Regions from separate parts of the Homo sapiens genome. Here all the other regions are linked to region 2. The links are contacts of gene promoters, found by promoter capture Hi-C in blood cells and fetal thymus (Javierre and others, 2016). All regions are on one chromosome and are shown on one strand. Each heading gives the region's core, a stretch centred on a gene start or on the middle of the fragment in contact. The rest is flanking DNA. Distances are from core to core; before and after follow the strand shown. Region 1 overlaps CUX2 (cut like homeobox 2). Region 2 holds the start of MYL2 (myosin light chain 2). Region 3 overlaps CUX2 (cut like homeobox 2). Region 4 overlaps CUX2 (cut like homeobox 2).

The links. Contacts are between HindIII fragments. The CHiCAGO score rates a contact against its expected background, and 5 or more counts as called.
Region 1: a contact is called between a fragment that was not itself captured here and the fragment with the promoter of MYL2 in region 2, in 1 of 17 cell types (endothelial precursors). The highest score is 5.2, in endothelial precursors.
Region 3: a fragment that was not itself captured here is called in contact with the fragment with the promoter of MYL2 in region 2 in 1 of 17 cell types (endothelial precursors); the score reaches 5.6 in endothelial precursors.
Region 4: a contact is called between a fragment that was not itself captured here and the fragment with the promoter of MYL2 in region 2, in 1 of 17 cell types (M2 macrophages). The highest score is 6.1, in M2 macrophages.

What each region holds. Positions count from the first base shown.
Region 1 is chr12:111,220,830-111,223,529 of GRCh38, reverse strand. The region is part of intron 3 of CUX2 (cut like homeobox 2); the gene reads right to left. Among named protein-coding and RNA genes, the nearest start is that of MIR6760, 82 kb to the left of the region's middle. The HindIII fragment of the contact is 752 bases long and covers 910-1,661 here.
Region 2 is chr12:110,919,329-110,922,028 of GRCh38, reverse strand. It overlaps MYL2 (myosin light chain 2), which reads left to right and starts at 1,450. Exons shown (of 7, transcript NM_000432.4): 1 at 1,450-1,502. The coding sequence starts at 1,500. RefSeq lists an enhancer at 642-2,700. The HindIII fragment of the contact is 13,220 bases long and covers 1-2,700 here.
Region 3 is chr12:111,264,683-111,267,451 of GRCh38, reverse strand. The region is part of intron 4 of CUX2 (cut like homeobox 2); the gene reads right to left. Among named protein-coding and RNA genes, the nearest start is that of MIR6760, 38 kb to the left of the region's middle. The HindIII fragment of the contact is 1,503 bases long and covers 667-2,169 here.
Region 4 is chr12:111,350,426-111,353,207 of GRCh38, reverse strand. It overlaps CUX2 (cut like homeobox 2), which reads right to left. Exons shown (of 22, transcript NM_015267.4): 22 at 2,654-2,782. Among named protein-coding and RNA genes, the nearest start is that of PHETA1, 17 kb to the left of the region's middle. The HindIII fragment of the contact is 4,968 bases long and covers 1-2,782 here.

The sequences.
Region 1 (2,700 bases), core at 36-2,535, 300 kb before region 2:
TCATGGCACAGTGTCACCTCCACCATGTTCTACTGGTCAAAGTAGGCACAGGCCCAGATTCAAAGGATGGAGACACAGACTCCATCTCTTGGCAGGGGAATGCAGGGACACACGGCAGATGTGCATGGGATGGAGATACTGCCGTGGCTGTCATCGGGGCAGGGTGTCAATGTGAAGCGCAGCAAACAAATAGAACCTCTGGGATGGAACCGACGGCCTCCCTTGGGCTTCTGGACATTATTTCAGAATCACAGGGACTTGGCTCCTACAGACATTTTTTCTTTTTCTTTCTTTAAAGGATTCCATGCGGAATCCTAGGGACATCCTTGAGGGCAGGGATGGTGTCTCACCATCTTTGGATCTGCAACAGTCCTCACACAGAGCCTGGGACATAGAAGGTTCTCCACAAGGATCTGTTGAGCGGACCTGCACGCTGCCAATAGAAGGGTGGCCTTGTCTCCTTTGGGAAGTCCTTCTTCCGGGTACTGCAAAAATGCTTGCTCTCCCTCATACCAAAAGGAGGCGAGGTGACCACTGGGTTGTGACCATCACTGGGCCAGCATCTGGAACCCTGCCTAGTATGCAGCAGCTATTCAATAAATGCTTGTTGAGGTGACTAAATGATTACATGGGCTCAAGTGATGATCTAATGCATCTTTACCCCCTTCTCTAAGCTCCTAGAAGGTGATCATGCCACACGAATTCCCCCAGACCCTGAGTGATTAGAGGGAGAACGTTCTCAGTCCCACACAACCATGCACGCCCACCATGGTGACAACAAGTGACTCACTGGCCACTTGACACACAGAATGTCACTGAATCTCATGCAATCCTATGAGCTGACCCTATTTACAGATGAGGAAACAGTGGCTCAGAGACATAAAGTCACTCGCCAAGGTCACATAAGCTTGTCAGTGTGAGGGTGGGGCTCAGACCACAGGTGTCTAACCTCTCCTGGGTGTCAGAGGCCAGGTCAGCCCACTTGGTCTCCAAACTACTGTGTTTCAATCAGGCCCAGGTGAATGTCTCTGTTCCAATCCAACCCAAAAGGTTTTCCACCATACAGGCCACATCCCCTTTATGGTGGAAGAAAAAGGCGGCAGAGAAAAAGAAAATCTCCCAACAGTGGCCCTGTGGTCTTTCAAGCTGGGACAGTGCACACGCGCTTCAGAAAAGTTTCACCTCCGAGTTAGCATAACAAAACTTTTAATTTAGATGTTTTCATGTCTCCCTCCAAGTAAAAATAAGTTTAAAATAATGACTGTAATAAATGAAGGTAATTAATTGTAGTTTGTTCCTTTACTGTCTAGTCAGCTTAATTTTACCTTTTCAACTAATAATGAGAAAATAATTTTTGTGCTCGGAGGGTTAATGATATGTAACTGCGAGAACTGCTAATTGCATGTTGCAATCCATCCATCAACAACCCCATCTGTGCGACTTGATTATGTTTGCTAAATTATTGCTTTGAATTATCTTTCATAAAGCAACTTTTATAATTAGCGAGGCTTTCGTCTTGCTCTTTTCTCTGTACGCAAGGATATTCAAACTTTGGCCATTTCAAGCTGTCTCCATTAAGCCACCTTCTCTGGCTGTCTTTGTTTCCCTGAACAGGAGAAATCTAAACTGTCCTTTAAGCAATCAAGGCAGACAGAGAAGCTTCCTTGATTCACAGCAGGGCAAATTCACTTCCTCTCCACCCCCTCCCACCGGCACGCACACACACAAACACACACACACACAGAAAGAAAGAAAAGAGACCCACACATATATAATATAAAAAGATAAGAAGTATGCCCAGATTCTGAACACACCAGGGCTGGTGAAGCAAAATTCAGGAATAACATGGTATATTTTATTGAACATGGTATATTTCATGGTACTTACCATGAAACTGAACATGGTATATTTCAAGGAAAGGCCTGCACTGGGAAGAAGGAATGACGGGCATGATATTCTGCCCTGGCGTTTTATGGGCTAGTTTATGTGACTTGGGATGGTATTTGCTCCAGGGAATATTTCCAGGAGGTGATTAATACCCACTTGGGAATCGCAGTGCCAGCCCAGAGCCTGGTGGATTGCAAGAGGACAGCGGCATAAAGGATGAGGCCTCATTAAAAAAATTAAAATGAAAATCAAATTTGGATTATAAATGGCCTGTGCATGTGCAGCTTTTTCTGGACGAAGAAGATGCTTTTTATTAACACCTTCCTTTGGCAGCGTCTCTCCCCTGAGGCACAAGGAGGACACAGAGGCCACAATGGCTTAGTCAATAGATCACGAGAAAAGCAGGGGTTTCGGGAATAAAATTCCAGACAAATGTAGTCTTCTTGGTACATTAAAGGGACGATGGAAAGCCCTCTTAAGAAAATTAACAAAGTTCTTTAAGGTCTCCAGCTATTAAAGCAGCATCTATTCAATATGCCACATGGGTTTTGAAAATGAGAATTCTGCTTTGTCTTTCCTTTTGGCCTAAGACTTTCTCTGTCCTAGTATTTACTGAGCACCAACGGTGTGCCAGACCCTGGGACTGCCTCCATGCTGCTGAAGTGTTTGAATCCTTTTTCCTTTTTTTTTTTTTTTTTTTTTTTTAAGAGACCAGGTCTCGCTCTGTTGCCCATACTAGAAAGAAATGGTATAATCATAGCTCACTACAGCCTTGAACTCCTGGGCTCAAGTGATCCTCCCACCTCAGCCTCC
Region 2 (2,700 bases), core at 201-2,700:
GTTTCATCATGTTGGCCAAGGTCGTCTTGAACTCCTGACTCAAGTGATCCACCCGCCTCAGCCTCTCAAAGTGCTGGCATTTCAGGTATAAGCCACTGCACCCAGCAGGAAAGCTGTCTTCAGTAAAAGTATTATATAATGACACCTTGCATTCTGAGAGCAGCTGCTGTTTTCAAGGCTCTTAAAGAGCCTGGACTCTGGAGACAAAGGGGCCTCCAGAGGGGTCCACGCCTAGCTCCATCACTGTGTGACCCTGGGCAGCTCACTTCGCCTCTCTGAGCTTTTGTTTCCGCATCTGTAAAATGGGGGCATGGATGATGAGGTGGTCCCCACCCTCTAGGGTGGCTGGAAAATTATGTGTGGGAGCCATGAGCACATAGTGTCCGGCACGTGCCAGTGCTCAGTCAATGAGATTTGTCATTTCTTCAGTCAACAAATATTTATTTTTGAGCTGCTGCTGTGTGCATCATGAGCTGGGAGCTGGGGAGACAGTCAGTGGTGAGGGAAACTAAAGTGATCCCTGCCCTCTGAGCTGACGCTCCACAGATGCTGAAGAAAATGAGTCAGTGCACTGTGGGCAGTGTTCGGGACTGCCTCACGCTGTGCAGAGAAACAAAGAAGGGAGATCGGAGCGCAGGAGGTGCGTGGCTGTGTTATTTGTTTGTTTTGAGACAGGGTCTTGCTCTGTCACCCAGGCTGGAGTGCAGTGGTGTGATCGTGGCTCACCACAGCCTCAACCTCCCGGGCCCAAGTGATCCTCCTGTCCCAGCCTCCTGAATAGCTGAGACTATAGGCATGCACCACCACGCACAGCTATTTTTTTTTCTTTTGCGTAGAGACAGGCATCTCCCTATGTCACCCAGGCTGGTCGCAAACTCCTAGGCTCAAGCAATCTTCCCGCCTCGGCCTCCCGCCGTGCTGGGATTTCAGGCATGAGCCACAGTGCCAGCCTTCATGGTTATTTTAAAGATGGTGGTCGGGGAGGCTTCACTCAGGAGATGACATATGAGCAAAGATGCAGTGAAGGAGGTGAAGGAAGGAGCCGTGCGATGACTGACAGAAAGACATTCCAGGTAGAGGGCACACAGGTGCAAAGACCCTGAGGCCAGATCCAGGCTGATAAAACAGAGCATTTTAGCAGTCTCCTCTCCCTGCCATTTTTTTTCTCAAAATTGACAAGCACAAGTGTCCCCGGCCCAAGCACCGCAGAGAGCGCGCAGCATCTCTCCCCGTGACCATGACCCAGCTACTGCCTCTTTAACCTTGAATGCCTTTTTGGGGGCTCACGTGTCACCCAGTGGCGAGTGAGCCACCCTTACTTCAGAAGAACGGCATGGGGTGGGGGGGCCTTAGGTGGTGCCCGCCTCACCTATGACTGCCAAAAGCGGTCATGGGGTTATTTTTAAACATGGGGAGGAAGTATTTATTGTTCCTGGGCTGCAGAGAGCTGGGCGGAGTGTGGAATTCTTCTCGGGAGGCAGTGCTGGGTCCTTTCCACCATGGTGAGTACAAGGGCTCCAGGAGGTGATGATGCCGGGTGGGCGAGGAGAGGAAGCCACTACAAGCGAGGGACCACGGCGGAGGGGGAGGAAGGCGGCCCTCAAAGCCTCCAGCCCCTTGTGGAAAAAGCCCCATTGACTGCGCGGGCACAGAGGAACCCCAATCAATGCCCCGATAGGCCACAAATAACAGCAGCTCTCGGGGACTCACAAACACAAAATAAGAGAGTTGGCTTTTTTATGGCTTGTCTACTGACCTCTCGAGGAATCAATAACTCCCAGGACTTGCAAAATGGGATTGAATGCTTTTAAGGATCAAATTGTAATTCTTTTCTCTTGTTCAGGCAGCTGGGAAAAAGAATGTTTTTGTTTTCACCTTTTGAACTTGCAAATTTAAAACCTTTCTTTCTGTGCTGTTGGGTTAGGTGTCCCCCTCCTGAAGTGGGCAGTCCCCAAATCAGGGTCAGCACAGGAGGGAGAGTGGTTAGAGGCAGGAACTCTGGAGTCAGAATGCCCAAGTTCAACTCCCCAAGTTCAACGCCCAAGTTCAACTCCGGCTCTGCCTTCTGTGTGTGTGGCTGTGTGATCTTGGGCAAGTGACCCAACCTCTCTGAGCCTCAGTTGCCTCTCCTGTAAAATGGGGATGATAATAATAGTATCCACTTGACAGAGTGGTTATGAGAATTAAATAATACATATGTAGAGTACCGAATCATTTGCTGTTATTGAAAGTCAGAGAGAAGTGGGGTGGGGAAGAAAGGTCAACTCGCTCTTCTCTGCCCTATTGATGTGGTGCAAGGACGGAGCATTCAGAGAGGAGGTTTTGCTGCCATTTGGAGCAAGGGAAAATTGTGGGGTGTGGGGCGCAGTTGGGTTTTAACACCTTGAAGAACTGTCATTTCATCTTGGCATTCATCATGGCTTAGTGAGCCTGACTTTTTCTTTCCCTCCAATCAATTCTCCTTCTGTGCATTACTGAGCTTTTTGTGAAATGCATCAGAACAAAAGTGGCTGGATCCTGCAGGGGCGATCTGAAGGTGTGGCCTCCATCCCCAGGGACACACCTGTGGCTTCTCCTAGTTGGTGAAGGAGCCACTGCAAGATGCACAAACGCTTATGATCCACTGGTACCAGAGGGCTCTGGAGAAACTTCATGTCATGTCCTTTGCTCCCTCCAGCATCACCGTTTGGAGACCTGAGT
Region 3 (2,769 bases), core at 169-2,668, 350 kb before region 2:
GGGCTCAACCTCTCTGTGCCACAGAGAAGCGAGTTGCTTGGACCTGCTCCCATGGGGCGTGTGAAACGCAGAGCACAGAACAAAGGCAACTTCTATATCAGGCCTGTGCGCTCAAACTTTCCCATGCTCCAAGATCACAGGGGAGCTTGATAAAATGCAGAAGCTGATTCTGTGGGCCGGGGATGGGGCCTGAGACTCTGTAGTCCTTCCTTCCTCCCTCCCTCCCTTTCTTTCTTTTTTTTTTTTTTTTTTTTTTGACAGGGTCTTGCTCTGTCACCCAGGCTGGAATGCAGTGGCACAATCTTAGCTCACTGCAACCTCCACCTCCTGGGTTCAAGCAATTCTCCCACCACAGCTTCCCAAGTAGCTAGGACCACAGGCGCCCACGACCATGCCCAGATAATTTTTGTATTTTTTTTGTAGAGACAGGGTTTCTCCATGTTGCCTAGGCTGGTCTCAAACTCCTGGCTTCAAGTGATCCTCCCACCTGGGCCTCCCAAAGTGCTGGCATTACAGGCATGAGCCGCCACCTGCGGCTGAGCCTCTGCATTTCTAACCAGCTTGCAGGTGAGGCTGATGTTTCTGGTCCACAGACCACACTTTGAGTAGCAACAGGCCAGAAGACCTCCCTCTTCATCCAGGCCACACGCTGTCGGAGGGCAAGCTTTGTCAGCATTGCTGGATTAGTGTCCCAGCGCTGCAGTAGAAAAGCACCACCAACTGGGGGCTGAAAACAACAGACACTTATTGTCTTGTAGTTCTGGGGACCATAAGTCCAACATCAAGACACTGGCAGGGCTGTACTCCTTCTGAAGACTCTAGGGAAGGATCCTTCTTGTCTCTCCCAGTTTCTCATGGTTGCTGGCAATCTTTGGTGCTCCTTGCCTTGTAGCTACATCATTTCCACCGTGCCTCTGTTTTTACACAGCTTTCCTCAGTGGCTATCTCTGTACCCTCGTCTCTTTTTTTTTTTTTTTTGTTGAGACAGGGTCTTGCTCTGTCACCCAGGCTGGAGTGCAGTGTTGTGATCTCGGCTCATTGCAACCTCCGCCTCCTGGGTTCAAGCGATTCTCCTGCCTCAGCCTCTTGAGTAGCTGGGAATACAGGCTACCACACCTGGCTAATTTTTGTATTTTTAGTAGACATGGGGTTTCCCCATGTTGACCAGGGTTGTCTTGAACTTCTGACCTCAAGTGATCCTCCTGCCTCTGTCTCCCAAAGTGCTGGGATTACAGGCTTTGAGCCACTGTGCCTGGCCCCATACTTCTTACAACACCAGTCATTGGATTTAGGGCTCACCCTAAAGCCAGGATGATCTCATCTTGAGATCCTTAGCTAATTACATCTGCAAAGACTTATTTTCAAATAAGGTCATATTTTGAAGTTCTACGTAGACATAAATTTTGGAGGCCACACTATCCAACCCACTACAGTTGCCCCAGACAGAGGAACAGTGGACTTTCCCACCCCAAATACAAAGATCCCAGAAATGACCTTGACATCTAATCTAAATGACTCTGTGTTCTCTGTGGTTTGGGTTTTGCAGTCGGACAGCTGAGGGTGGGATGTCATTTTCCTCTTCACAGGCCCCCAGCCTCAAACACCTCCCGTAGTGCTGATTCCTGCCACTGTGTGGAAGGATGGGGGAAAGGACTGGGAGAGGTCTGGGTGGGGAGAGTTAGCACAGCAAGGCCTCCTCCGGGCTCTGCCATTGGTAAGCAGATCATTTCAACTCTTTGGGCTCCTGTTTCTGGGTCAGTAAATGAGAAGGTAGCAGGGGATGGGCCATTTAAAACAAGGGAAAGTTTTGGCCGGGTGCGGTGGCTCACATCTGTAATCCTAGCACTTTGGGAGGCTGAGGTGGGCGGATCACTTGAGGCCAGGAGTTTGAGACCAGGCTGGCCAACATAGGGCAACCCTGTCTCTACTAAAAATACAAAAAATTAGCCGGGAATGGTGGTGCATGCCTGTAATCCCAGCTACTCGGGAGGCTGAGGCAGGAGAATTGCTTGAACCCGGGAGGCGGAGGTTGCAGTGAGCTGAGATCGCGCTACTGCACTCCAGCCTGGGCAACAGAGCAAGACCCTGTCTCAAAAATAAAATAAAATAAAATAAAATAAAATAAAATAAAATAAAATAAAAATAAAATAAAATAAAATAGGGGAAGCTTTTATGGATGTCTGGCATATGTATAGATCCTTTGTGTACAACCAAATGTTCTCAAACTGTAACCCAAACCAGGACCGAGAAACCACAGTCCCAGCACCCAGAGGCCCCTCCCAGGAACTCTTGGCCCCCTTCAAGTGTTTGAAACCACTATCTTGATTTCCAATAGTACAGGTTGACTTTTTTTTTCAATTAAGGTGAAATTCATACAACAGAAAATTTATCATTTTAACGTGAACAATTCAATGACATTTAGTACATTCTTGATGTTCTACAACCACTTGTTCACTTAGTTCCAGAATATTTTTATCCCCCAAAAAGAAACTCATACCGATTAAGCAGTCACTCTCCAATCTCCCTCCCCAGCCCCGGGCAACCAACAATCGACTCTTATCTACGGCTTGCCTGTTCTGGATGTTTCATGTAAATGAAATCCTACACTATGTGGCCTTGGTTTCTGGCTTCCTTCACTCAGCACTGTGTTTTCGAGGTTCATCTTCACTGAAGCACATATCACAGCTCCATTCCTTTTTTATTTGAGACAGAGGACAGTCTTGCTCTGTCATCCAGGCTGGAGTGCAGGCATGATCTCAGCTCACTGCA
Region 4 (2,782 bases), core at 64-2,563, 430 kb before region 2:
CAGTGGTGGCAGACACCCTGTCAACACCAAAGCTGATGACCCAGAACATGCTTCAGTCCCTGAAGCCCACAGGCACCTGCTCCCTCGGGTTCTCAGGTGGCTTGCGTGGTGCCAGACTCCACTCCTGCCAGCCTGGTCCCACAGGGGGCCACACCCTGGGGGTTTCTGACCTCCAACCTTCTCAAGAGCTGTGAATGAACTGAGGGTCTGAAAGGGTATTCTTTGGTTTTGTTTAATTTGAATCTTTACAACCACCTTGTGAGCAAGATGCCATTCCTACCGCCTCCACTTTATGGCTGGGAAACTGAGGCACTGTGTAGTTTAAGCATTTGCCCAAGGCCACACAGCTCTAAGAGGCGGAGCCAGAGTTGAAACCAGGCCATTTGGCTCTTGACTCCCATCTTCCTCCCCAGCTCTGAGGACAGGCCATCCATTCGCCTGAAATGTCACATGCAATGGGCTGACTCAGGAGCTCCAGGGCTGATGGGGGCCTGGGCCCTGACCTGCCACCTCCCACTCCCACCACTCCATGATGGGGTGCCCAGGCATCCCAGTGGGCTGTCCTGCTGGGCTTGGAGCAATTAGTTATCCTAACCGAGACGGGGGTAATTGTTTAACGCTCCCTGCAAGGATATACGGAAAAACTGGGGCAATTGGAAGATTTCCAGACAAAGGGAAAAGGGCTGTCTTGGGACAGCCACATGGCTGGGCTCATGGGTGAGTAATGTTTAGTGCCACTTCAGGGACTCTCCTGACATCATAGGTCACAAAAAAACCCCTCCTGCAGCCTGATGCACAGAGACTCACTATCATAGGCTGGAAGAACCTACCCCCTACTTACAATAACAATAACTAATAGTTACCGAGTTTTTTCTTTTTTTCCTTTGAGATGGAGTCTTGCTCTGTCGCCCAGGCTAGAGTGCAGTGGCACGATCTTGGCTCACTGTAACCTCCACCTCCTGGGTTCAAGCGATTCTCCTGTCTCAGCCTCCTGAGTAGCTGGGATTATAGGTGCACACCACCACGCCCAGCTAATTTTTGTATTTTTAGTAGACATGGGGTTTCACCATGTTGGTCAGGCTGGTCTCGAACTCCTGACCTCATGATCCACCTGCCTTGGCCTCCCAAAGTGCTGGGATTACAGATGTGAGCCACTGCGCCTGGCATTTTTTTTTTTAATAGTCTCACTTGGCCGGGCGTGGTGGCTCACACCTGTAATCCCAGCACTTTGGGAGGCCGAGGCGGGTGGATCACGAGGTCAGGAGATCGAGACCATCCTGGCTAACATGGTGAAACCCCATCTCTACTAAACAAAATACAAAAAATTAGCCGGCGGTGGTGGCGGGCGCCTGTAGTCCCAGCTACTCGGGAGGCTGAGGCAGGAGAATGGCGTGAACCCGGGAGGCGGAGCTTGCAGTGAGCTGAGATCTCGCCACTGCACTCCAGCCTAGGCGACAAAGCGAGACTCCGTCTCAAAAAAAAAAAAAAAAAAAAAAAAGTCTCACTCTGCCCACCCAGGCTGGAATGCAGTGGCGCAATGGCTCACTACAGCCTCTGCCTCACTACAGCCTCTGCCTCATGGGTTTAAGCAATTCTCGTGCCTCAGCCTCCTGAGTAGCTGGGACTACAGGTGCCCACCACCATGCTTGGCTAATTTTTGTATTTAGTTATCGAGTTCTTACTGCCGTGCAGTTTTACGCATATGCATATGCATGTATATTATTCACAATGACCTTCTGAGTTGGCTGCTGTGATACCCCCATTTTGCAGATGAGGAAACTGAGGCCCCAGTTATACAACTAGGAAAGGTGTGATGCTATGTTGGTCAACAGGAAGCCCCTCTTGGCATTTTCCCATCGGGCCTGGGGGCACTAACCACTCACACACTGTACAGAGGTGGGCACAGCTTGCAAGCTGGTTCACTTGCTGGTTTAGGGGTAGAGTGCAGTTTTGACTCCTCATACCAGGCCCTGGAGTCTGAGCAGCTTCTACTCTGCTGCAGGCTGGTCCACAAGGCACACTTGCCAACCCAGATGCCCACAAGGCCCAGGCAGGTTGCACAGTTGAGGGCTGAAGCAAATCATGGGCATGTGCCCCATCTAAAGGCAGCCAGCCCTCATCTGGCTGTTGTCACATTGGAACGTGGGCCCAGTGTGGCCAAGATCTTGACTATTTCCTGGAGAAGCTCATAATCATGCTTTTTAATGGGACATGCCCATTAAATGTTGGCCATTTTTTTTTTTTTTTTAGAGAGGAGGGTCTTACCGTGTTGCTCAGGATGGTCTCAAACTCCTGGCCTCAAGTGATCCTCCCACCTTGGCCTCCTAAAGTTCTGGGATTACAGGCCTGAGCCACCATGCCCAGCCAATGTTGGCAATTTAGAAACCAGGCTTAAATTTTTTTTTTTAGAGACAGGGTCTCTCTCTGTCTATGCTGGAATGCACTGGCAATCATAGCTCACTGCAGCCTCAAATTCCTGGGCTCAGGCAATCCTCCCACCTTGGCCTCCCAAAGCACTGGGATTATAGGTGTGAGCCATTGTGCCTTAAAAACTAGTTTTAAAAAATACCATTTTGTAAAACATCTCTGAGGGCCAGATCTGACCTCCAGTTTGTACTCCTAGCCCCAGAACAAAGAAGCAAGACACCCAGAATTATTATACAATTCTGTATTTAGCGACTCGTTTACAGAACGTGTTCCTTTTTTTAAAATTTTAAACAAAGTTCATCAATCTCTCATAGAAACGGTTTGTGTATGTGTGTGTGTGTTTTTTAACCGTTAT